Regions from separate parts of the Homo sapiens genome. Here region 1 is linked to region 2. Evidence: promoter capture Hi-C in human tissues and cell types (Jung and others, 2019). All regions are on one chromosome and are shown on one strand. Each heading gives the region's core, a stretch centred on a gene start or on the middle of the fragment in contact. The rest is flanking DNA. Distances are from core to core; before and after follow the strand shown.

Evidence for each region. Contacts are between HindIII fragments. The study calls those that stand out against the background at their distance.
Region 1: a contact is called between a fragment that was not itself captured here and the fragment with the promoter of ADAMTS15 in region 2, in 2 of the 25 tissues and cell types used here (aorta and bladder).

The regions. Positions count from the first base shown.
Region 1 is chr11:130,603,812-130,608,317 of GRCh38, reverse strand. No RefSeq gene overlaps it. Among named protein-coding and RNA genes, the nearest start is that of MIR8052, 61 kb to the left of the region's middle. The HindIII fragment of the contact is 3,601 bases long and covers 1-3,588 here.
Region 2 is chr11:130,446,272-130,451,361 of GRCh38, reverse strand. It overlaps ADAMTS15 (ADAM metallopeptidase with thrombospondin type 1 motif 15), which reads right to left and starts at 2,717. Exons shown (of 8, transcript NM_139055.4): 1 at 1,432-2,717. The coding sequence starts at 2,388. The HindIII fragment of the contact is 14,209 bases long and covers 1-5,090 here.

The sequences.
Region 1 (4,506 bases), core at 539-3,038, 160 kb before region 2:
GAGGAGTTTCAGGAAGGAATTAGGGAGGAAGTAGAGTGTGATCCATGGGTGTGGTTGGACACGAGGAAAGGGCCATCATGGCAGAGGGGGCAGTGTGAGCAAAGGCCCCTGTGGTGCCAGGTGTGGGGGATGCTGGATCTGAGCGAGGACTGGGGAAGGACAAGAGAATGAGTGTGAAGGGGAAGGCAAGCAGAGCAGCTGAATGCCAAACTGGGACAATAAACTGTTTCCAAATGATAGTGATGTGGGTCCTTGTGACCCTCCCTTAAGGAAGCTGCTCACTGCCTTCCTCTGCATCCCACTCTTGATAGCATCCCAAGCCATCCAAGTCCCCGGGTGAAAGGGGCCCAGCTTTGCAGCCCCAGGGCAGCCAGGTCCACTCAGAGCAGCCCAGAGTGCATACCTGTCTTCTCACCCAAGACACCCGGACGGTGGCAGGCTGGCAGAAATGATACTCCAGGACCCTCCTCCCGGGGAACTAATAGCCCAATAATCCCACAAGAGTCACTACTGTAGAACAGCAAAAAGCCAGCAAAACTGAAAAACAAACAGGGATGCTCTGGCGAGAGCCAAGCTGCTCTTTGGGCCCTCAGATTTGGGGTGTACCTGGACATCGTCTCCTGACTTACTCATTTTGGCACATCACAGAGCACACAGCATTGAGGCCCTCTACCCCACAATGATCCCCACCCACCACCTCCATGTGACAGTTCGGTTTCCTGTTCAAACTATTGAGGCAGCTCCAGCCCAGACCAGAAGGAAGCCGACAACATGGGAGTCTGGTTAGCAGCGCCTTCCACCCAGGCCCACCCCACCTGCCCTGAGCACCGCTATCTCTCTGAGTGATTATGAAGTCAAACGGCTCCCTTCCCTATTGCTGCAAACAAGCCCATGTGGGCTGTGAGACACCCCAGATCCAGGAAGCCCCAGGGCTCAGCTGACAGCTCAATTACCGTGGAGCGTCTACCCCCACCCTCCCTCCACCTCCTCCTCAGCCTTTTATTGCTTTTGGCAGCCTAGCAATGGGGGAGCCTCAAGTCAAGCTTGTTGAAAGTGCAAAAGGAGAGAAAATTGTTCTCATCTGAATAAATAGAGTCAGCTGTTGCCAGAGGGTGACATCTCCCCAGGGTGAGTTCCCCTAGACCAGGCAACCCCGTGTTGGGCTTAGATGGGCACTTGAACACAGGCCAGCGATATCTGGGTGACGCTGGAGAGGGCTGCCAAGTGGATGCTTCGTGGCTTTGGAATGCCCCAGTGGGAGGTAAGGGGGCAGGGGTTAGAAGGATTGGATCAGGAAGGAACACCATAGGTCAGCACACACTGGTCCTTCCACATCAGCAAGGGACGGGGAGGGGACAGTGGGCCCCAGCCACCACAGAACCCACTTCACAAGTTATGTCTCTGACCCCTTAGGCATGGGGCCCATGGGTGGAGTCTCTGACTCTTGCATCTGGATCTGAGAAGAGGCCCATGCAGTGAGCTGGTGCCCAGGCTGCTTCCTGACATCCGGAGAACATGGCCAAGCTGCTTTGGGAAGGTCACTCCACCCTATGAAACAGTAAGCCTGTCCCAGAAACTCAGAAAGCTTTTCCATCCTGAGAGTTACACCAAAAGGGCTCAGGAAAGGGAAGCAAAGAGCAGAGGTGAAGGGAGGTGTGGGGAGTGATGGGGAATATGTGGGAAGAAGGAGGAAGAACAGGGATGCTTGTGGTATTCCAGAAAGAGCACTAAAACCAAGTCCAGAGACCAGATTCTAGTTCCTGTTCCTTTCTAAATGAGCTAGATGGCTTCAGCTAGGCCCTAACTCTCAGGCCTAAGAGAGCAGCTGAGCTAGATGTTATCTGAGATCTTGTCAAACTTTCAACTAATATGTGGAAATCAAAAACCAGAACGATTTGAAGTAACTCCAGTCCTGTTCAGTGCCCTTTCCCCTGGACCCAACTCTAATATGGCCATGAAAGAAAATGACACACCAACCACCACTTCCTGGCATCGCTCCCAACGCAGCCTCCCTGGTCCTCTCTGCTCCAGAGATGGAGAGCAAATCCTTGTCATCTTAAGACCTAGAGATGCTGCTGCACAGGCGTACTGAGATAAACCAAATCATATGGAAAATGCTTTTCTTTCTGCTCTAGTGGAAAAGCATCCAAAGAAATGAAGTGTTGGACAGCAGTGTTTCTCCCTCCAAAAGGCAGGCAAAACCCAACAGGACAGGCCATTGACAAATGACAAAAGAAACATCCCTTGTACTGAAACATCTTCACGTAAGAAGGGGCTACCTGACATGTTATAATAGTTTTCCCATCCAAGCCAGCTTTATGCCTTGCGTTTATGTGGTGTTTGACAGTTTACAAGGTACAGCATATAGATGACTTCACTTCATCCTCACAACCTCCAAGTAAGGGAGGTGGCATTAGCCTCCCTGTGCAGATGAGAAACGGAGGCCGAGAGATGCTGGGATGTTCTGCGTTTCCCCCATTGCACGCTGTCATCTCCCAGAAGGATCATCTTTTGGGGGTGGGGTAAAGGACAGATAAAAAGAGGGTAGGGTAGTGATGAGTGCAAAAGACCAGGGAAAAGGAGTCCCAGGTTCCGTTTCAGGGTACATCTCATATCCCTGTTTCTCGATACCCCTCCGTCTTCCTCAACCATCTCAACATATGTCAAAAATGTCAGTGCTTCCTTGCCAGGATCTGCAGCTACAGGGTAACAAAAATAATTTCATAAAACTGCGAGGAGACACCTTAGGGATTGCCTAATCTACCCTGTCATTTTACAATGAGGACATTGAAGCCCAGGTTGGTGAAATGAGTTGCCTGGGGTTACCCAGCTGGCAAGCAGCAGGGCCTGGATTAGAACTTGCTGTCCTGACCCCAGACCACATGGGGACAAGCGAGGATGCCTGGGCCAATGGGAGGAACTGAGAAGGACCTGAGAAGCTCCAAACACAGCCTACCCCTCTGCATTGCCCCCACCTCACCCCCGGAGTCACACCCCCAGGCCCATATACTCCACACCAAAGTTGGGGACTGAGCCAAGAAGCCTTCCTCTCACTCATATGGAAGGACTCTGATACTCATGTCTGAGGCACTGACTCCAACTGGGAACCTCCCACCAATCCAAACACAGCAGACTGGTCAGAAAGCTTTGGTTTTTTTCCTGTTGTTTATGGAGCCACACTCTGGAGGCCTGAGTCCATCTGACATAACCACAGGGCTGGTGCAGTAGAAGAGCTTCCACCTGGGGCTGCGAGAAAGCCGCCTGCAGCCAGGGAGTTCTCTCCTCATTGCAGTCTCTTCCACTTCTCCTTTGTTCACTCAACACTCACTGGATATGCTCTTTGCCAGGTCACATGCTAGGAACAAGACCCACAGACCTGTATTAAACAGAAACACCACCTTCAAAGAGTCCTCATTCCTGCGAGAAGCAAATCACATCAACTTTTTCTGGACAAACTCCATGAATCCAAGGGGATTGACTTCATTACTTGAGAAACCAAAGCAATGGAATTCCAGCCTGGCAGGTCAACTAGACCTGGAAGCTCCAACTCAGTGACCCAAGGCTATAAATTTATTAAGGACAGGAACTTATCCTCTCCTCTTCATAACCTTCTTTCCCCCTCAGAGCCTAACACAGTGCTTGGCAAACAATAATCACACACATATTTGTTAGATGAAAAAAACAGAATGCATGAATATCCCATGTCCCTCCCTCTCCACTCTCAATTTTCTCTTTCCTCTTTTTAGAAAAACCAAACATTCTTCTCTCTCATAAGTCTCTTGGAATTGCAGTTGATCCTAAGAGCTGAGAGAATGAGAGTGATTGAAAGAGAAAGGGGGAGAGAGAGAAGAAATTCAGCCTTAGAGAGAGTTGGCGCCGTAAGTCTCCCAATTTACCTGTTTCAGCAGCTGGCTCCTCCTAAAGTGAAAGTCAAGTCACCTCAACTGTTTATGATGCGCTGAAGTGCCCAGAAGCATGTTTTTATTATAAGGGGGAAAAAGGACATTTAAGACAACATTGCCTTTAAAAGCTTATAATCTACCTTGGATGACAAATTTGGTATGCATGAAATAATCAAAGACAAACAACACAACAACACGTGACAAAGTATCTCATCAGTGGGTTCATATGGGGAAACATTTATGGAAGAGGCAGGTGTCAAAGAGATCTCAAAAAATAAATGGCGCCTAGAGCCTTATGGGGCAAGGGTGGAGGAATGAAATCAGTATCGGGGTACTCATTACATTACCACTATATTCAACAAGCTATACGCAACGCCTCGTTTAATCGGCCCCACCATCATGCGAAGTAGCTACTATTATCCCCATTTTATAGATGAGGAAACAGGCCCAATGAAATTAAGTGAATTATTCATGATTATGGTTCAGCTCCAGGCCTGTGTGACTCCAAAGCTCATGATATTTGCACTGCACTGTGTCCACGGAGGAGCTGAGAAGAGACTCTGGTGCCGATTATCATAAAACTATATAAAAAAGCAAAAGCCAG
Region 2 (5,090 bases), core at 1,468-3,967:
AAGTTCGACTCCAGGAAGGGACTAGCTGTGCCAAATGGGTTACTGTGGAAGACTCCAGCTCCAGACTGTGTGCGCCAGTCCAACTTTGAGTGACCATTTGGAAACAGTGGAGAGTTAGAGCCCCACAGGTAACCAAGGATTCCACGCCATCCCCAGAGTGCTGTGGTTATGATAATAACCAAAAAAAAGAGCATGGCACAGATTCAAGTCACAGTCCCCCAAATCAGAAGAAGAGGCTCACTTGGATGGCTCTTTTCCTCCCAGCCTCCTGTATCTGAGAAATTTCAAGAATCCAAATACTCCTCAGTGCCCAATCACTCCAACACCTGTGAATCTAAACGTTTGCAGATTTGTAGCTTCTTTGACATAGAATATCAGGAAAGGCCTTGCAAAAGGCAGGGCTGCTTCCTGGGCTGGGTCCATCTTTCTAATCCCAATACTCAGTTTCCTTCTAACTCTACAGCTGGAATCTCCAAATACTCTTGACTAAGCTCACACCACTTCCACCCCAGCAAGGGCAGAAGCTAGAGCCCTGAAGTCAAGTGTGGTCATAGGAATTTTAGTGACTTGGGAGCAGGAGCAAGCATGCCCGCTCTGCTCTGTAGTATACATCTGGGCAAACGGGTCACCCTCTGACAGCAAGGATACAGGAAAATTGGAAGAGATTTTCCCAACTCAGCTCCAAGTAAAACTCCACTTGAAACTCCAAGTGAAACAGTCTCAGCTCCAAACAGGTGCCCTAACTACACCGCCTGCTCAGAATGGTCTAGAAGCCTCTTGGACCATGCCCAGCAGAGAAGTCTGTAGGAGAAGCGGCAGTGAAGGAGGGATGCTCGCAGTACTTGAGTCTGGCCTGTCACTGCAACCCACAAAATCTCTCAATGATTCCCTCCACCCCAATCCAGGCTTTCCAGGCCCAGTACAGAGAGGGGACAACGTGTTACCCGAGAGAAATGTAGCAAGCGCTGACCTTGGATCACCTTCAGTTCTACAACCCTTGAAAGGAGACCTCAGGAGGTGTCCGAGAAGACTCAGCCGCCCATACAATAGGGGTGGGCCGTTCCCGCCCTCTCCAACACCATCCTCACGGCGTCTCCTATCGGTCTTGGACACAAACTGCAGCTCCGGGGCGGCAACTTCCTGGGTTCCGGCCCCTCGGCGCCTGATCCAGGAGGCGCTGATTGGCCGCGCCAGGCCAACACCTTCGGAAAGCGCAGGCTCTCCTCCAATGGCCCAGATGCACGTGAGCCGCCGCTCCGCGGAGCGTGGGAGAGGGCTCTCCCTGGAAACTCCACAGAGTTGGAGTCGGAAGAGATCAACGAGGTTTAAACTCGGAGGCATTGCACGATACAAAGGGGATTTGGAGCGCTAGGGGAGGTGACCCTAAAGAACGGGACTATCTGGGTGCAAAGTGACGGCAGATCAACTCACCTGCCTGGTGAAGAGGATGGCAGTGTCCCAGTACTCGGGGTGCTTGTCACTCACTTTGTTCAGCTTCTTCTGCCAGGCACAGAAGTTGCGCAGCGTCAGGGCCGCATTGCCGGTGACCTTGGGCCCGGAGTCACGATCTCTAAGAAGCAGCACCTTGACCACAACGATGTTGATGGGGTTGAGGATGCTGGGATGGCGGTAGAGTCGCGCCGCCGTTGCCAGCAGCGTCAGCAGATAATGTTCCAGGTCCGCGCCGTGGAACTTGACCATTGACTCGTCCGCGACCACCAGCGTCTCCACGTACCGCGGGATAGACACGAAACGCTTGGCGCGCCCAGACCTGCGCCGGCTACGACTCTCCCCGAAGCCCGCCCGCCGCGGCTTGTAAGGGTCCAGGGCCCGTAGGATGGCGGGGTTCCAGCCCGAGGCCACCCCGCAGCGAGAGGTGGGGTCTCCGGAAGGCCCGCCCGGAACACCCCGGCGCTGGAGAAGGTGTGCGCCCTGGCTGTTGCGCTGCGCCGCCGGCGCGCTAGCATTGGGCAGCGGGCTAATGACATACTCGGCGCCTCGGTAGCCAAAGGCTCCGCGGAGCCCCCCGCACAGGCTCACAGCAGCGAACGAGTCCGGCTCGGCGTTCACGTCCCCAGAATAGAAGCAGCGTCGCAGGTCTGAAGAGCCCCCGGTGAGCCCCTGGAGGGGGACGCCCAGATGCTCAGTGGAGAAGGCGGGAGCCAAGAACTGAGCATCCGGCGTCAGGTGTAGGTAAAAGTCCTCCTGAAATGCTGTGATCTGAAAAATGAGTCCCTGATCCCCGGAGTCCTCGGGACCCCGCCAGTAGTAGCGGCGGCCGTTAATGTCCGGGTCCAGTCGGATGGGAACGACTACCTCCCGCTCTGGCTCAGAGCCTCCAGCGGTTCGCCCGGCGAAAGCCAGGGTTAGGATGCCCAGCAGAAGCATGGCGCCGGGCAGCGCACCGCCGCGCTGTGGGAAGGGGCTGGGCCGGGCTCTCCGGCCGCTGCCGCGGTCTCCGTGCAGCCCGCACTCTGGAACCGCCAACGCTACGGGACAGCCGGCAGTTCCCAGAAAGGAGAGCCAAGGGAGGGAGACTCCTCCCAGGGCGGCGAGCGTGCACCCGGCAGCCCGCGCTTCCTACCTGTGCCTTTCCAAGCAAAGCGCGCCCTGGGAGCTTAAGTACAATCGCTGTCAAGTGCAAGGACGAAGATTTGCAGCCGAGAACTAGCGGAAGGTGCCGGGCGGCTTCTCGCAACCGCAGCCACTCGCAGCGCAGCAAGCCAGGCGCTGGGCGAGCCTATTAAAGGCCCCCTCCTCTTTGGACGGCCCAGTCAGCGCCCCTCCCCTCACTCCCCTCCCAGCCTCCCAGAGCTCGCTGCCGGAGCCTCCAGGGGCCACCGGAGAACTCGGTCCCGCCTCCAGAGCGGAGAGCCACTTGGCGGGGAGGGAGTGGCATTGAGCTGAGGCAGGAGGCGTGGGCTGGCCCGAGAAACCGGCGCTGAAGTCTCAGTTTGCGTTTTGCTCTTGGTTATGCCCCACTGTCCCGACGCCTCACTCGCTTCTGCCCCCGCGGACAGCGTTCACTCTCTGGGTCTTAGTCTTTTATCTCAGGGCAGATCAGGTCAGCAGCTAGGAATGAAGACCCTTCACTGACCCGTCCCCAGGCCCACCTCATCCCTGCTGTTGCAACATCCCTGCTGTTTCTTAATCACAGAGTCCCCTAAAAGACCCAGAATCAAGAACCACCCCCCCCCCCGCGTAAATGTCCTATTGCCAGAAGAGCAATAGGACAGGGGCATGGGAGCCCTCTGGAACCCAAGACCGCCTAGCCCCAAGGTCTGCCCTGGGCCCATGGTGTGCTGGATGGGCTGGGGCAAACTCTTCAGTTCTCAGGAATCTTGCCAGCCAGCTGTTAATCACGGACATTATTAAAAATTAAACTAAACACACTTACAATTAAACAAAGTGTATATATATATATGCACACACACACACATACATATATATACACATACATATATATATATACATACACACACACACACACACACACACATATATATATATATTTTTTTTTTTTTGAGACGGAGTTTTGCTCTTGTTGCCCAGGCTGGAGTGCAATGACGCGATCTCAGCTCACCGCAAACTCCGCCTTCCGGGTTCAAGCCATTCTCCTGTCTCAGCCTCCCAAGTAGCTGGAATTACAGGCATGCACCACCACGCCCAGCTAATTTTGTATTTTTAGTAAAGACAGGGTTTCTCCATGTTGGTCAGGCTGGTCTCGAACTACCGACCTCGGGTGATCCTCCTACCTTGGTTTCCTACCTCCTACCTTGGTCTCCTGAGTAACTGCGACCACAGACACACGACACCACGCTAGGCCAATTTGTGTGTGTGTGTGTGTGTGTGTGTGTGTGTGTGTGTGTGTGTGTGTATTTTTGGTAGAGACTGGGTTTCGCCGTGTTGCCCAGGCTGGTCTTGAACTCCTGAGCTCAAGCAATCCACCCACCTCGGCCTCCCGGTGCGGGGACTACAGGCGTGAGCCACCATGCCTAGCCACAAAGTACATTTTTAAAAGGTAATAAATACTCAAAACCCGTCGCTTCCTAAGTATTTGATAATTACTTATGGTCTTGAGCCACCAGAACCGCCAACCCTCTGAGACAGCAACTCCCAGAAAAGAGTGCAGAATGGGGTGGAAATGTGAGGGAAATATTAAATGGTGTGCTGCCCTGCATCTCCCCAGTCAGGGACATCACAATGGCTTGAAATAGGTCCTGGTAGAAGTATTTACACCACCTGAATAAGCAAATCAGAGCTGGGGTTGGGGGCAGGAAGATGAGCCCTTGTACACAGCTACCTGCCTGGCAGGGATGTGGAGATCAGGTTCTGGGGCTGCAGTTACAAGAGGAAGAGGCTGTCTTCCAGCAAACAGTAGAAAAATCGGGCCAGGCTTCCTCCATGAAATTATCTCATTTGACCCTTGACCAAACCCTGGACTGGGGACTGGCATAGGAGGCCGAGTGAGTATCAGCTGGAGAAGATGCAATCGCACCTTATGTTCCCATCTAGTTTGGAGAACAGCCCAAGGAGTTTTTCAGGCTCTAGACCTCAAGATCCTTCTTACCTCTCCGCAGAATCAACTTCTTTCTCTGACAAGGGAGAAAGGCAAGGAGAGGAGGGAGGCTTTGCTACTCTCTCCTGATACCTAGAAAATCTTTCTGGAGCCAAAGGGCTCTGAGTTGAGTTTGCAAGAGGGGAGGACAAAGAAGGGAGTGTGTGATGATTTTAAGCATAAAGGGGATGATGTGGGAGAATTTTGGAATTTTTTTTAGGGAAGTGGCTGTTCAAGGGAAGAACTCTATTGTCCAAGGAGAGAAAAGGCTGGGACTGGTCCATCAGTGAAGAGCACTTTTTGCCCATTATCTTCTCCCCATAAAGGATCCACTCTTGGAAGCGCCCCCTGGGGCCTTGGAACATGAAGATGGCTCAGATGCCCATAATTCCAGTGAGGCCTCTCCTTGATTGGGACACAAGGAGCTGAAATTCATTATGTGAATGAGTGAGAGATGGGTGTTTATACTCTGCAAATGAAAGAGAGTGTATGGGTATGGGAGGACTGTGTGTGAGACAGGGAGTTCAAGCTT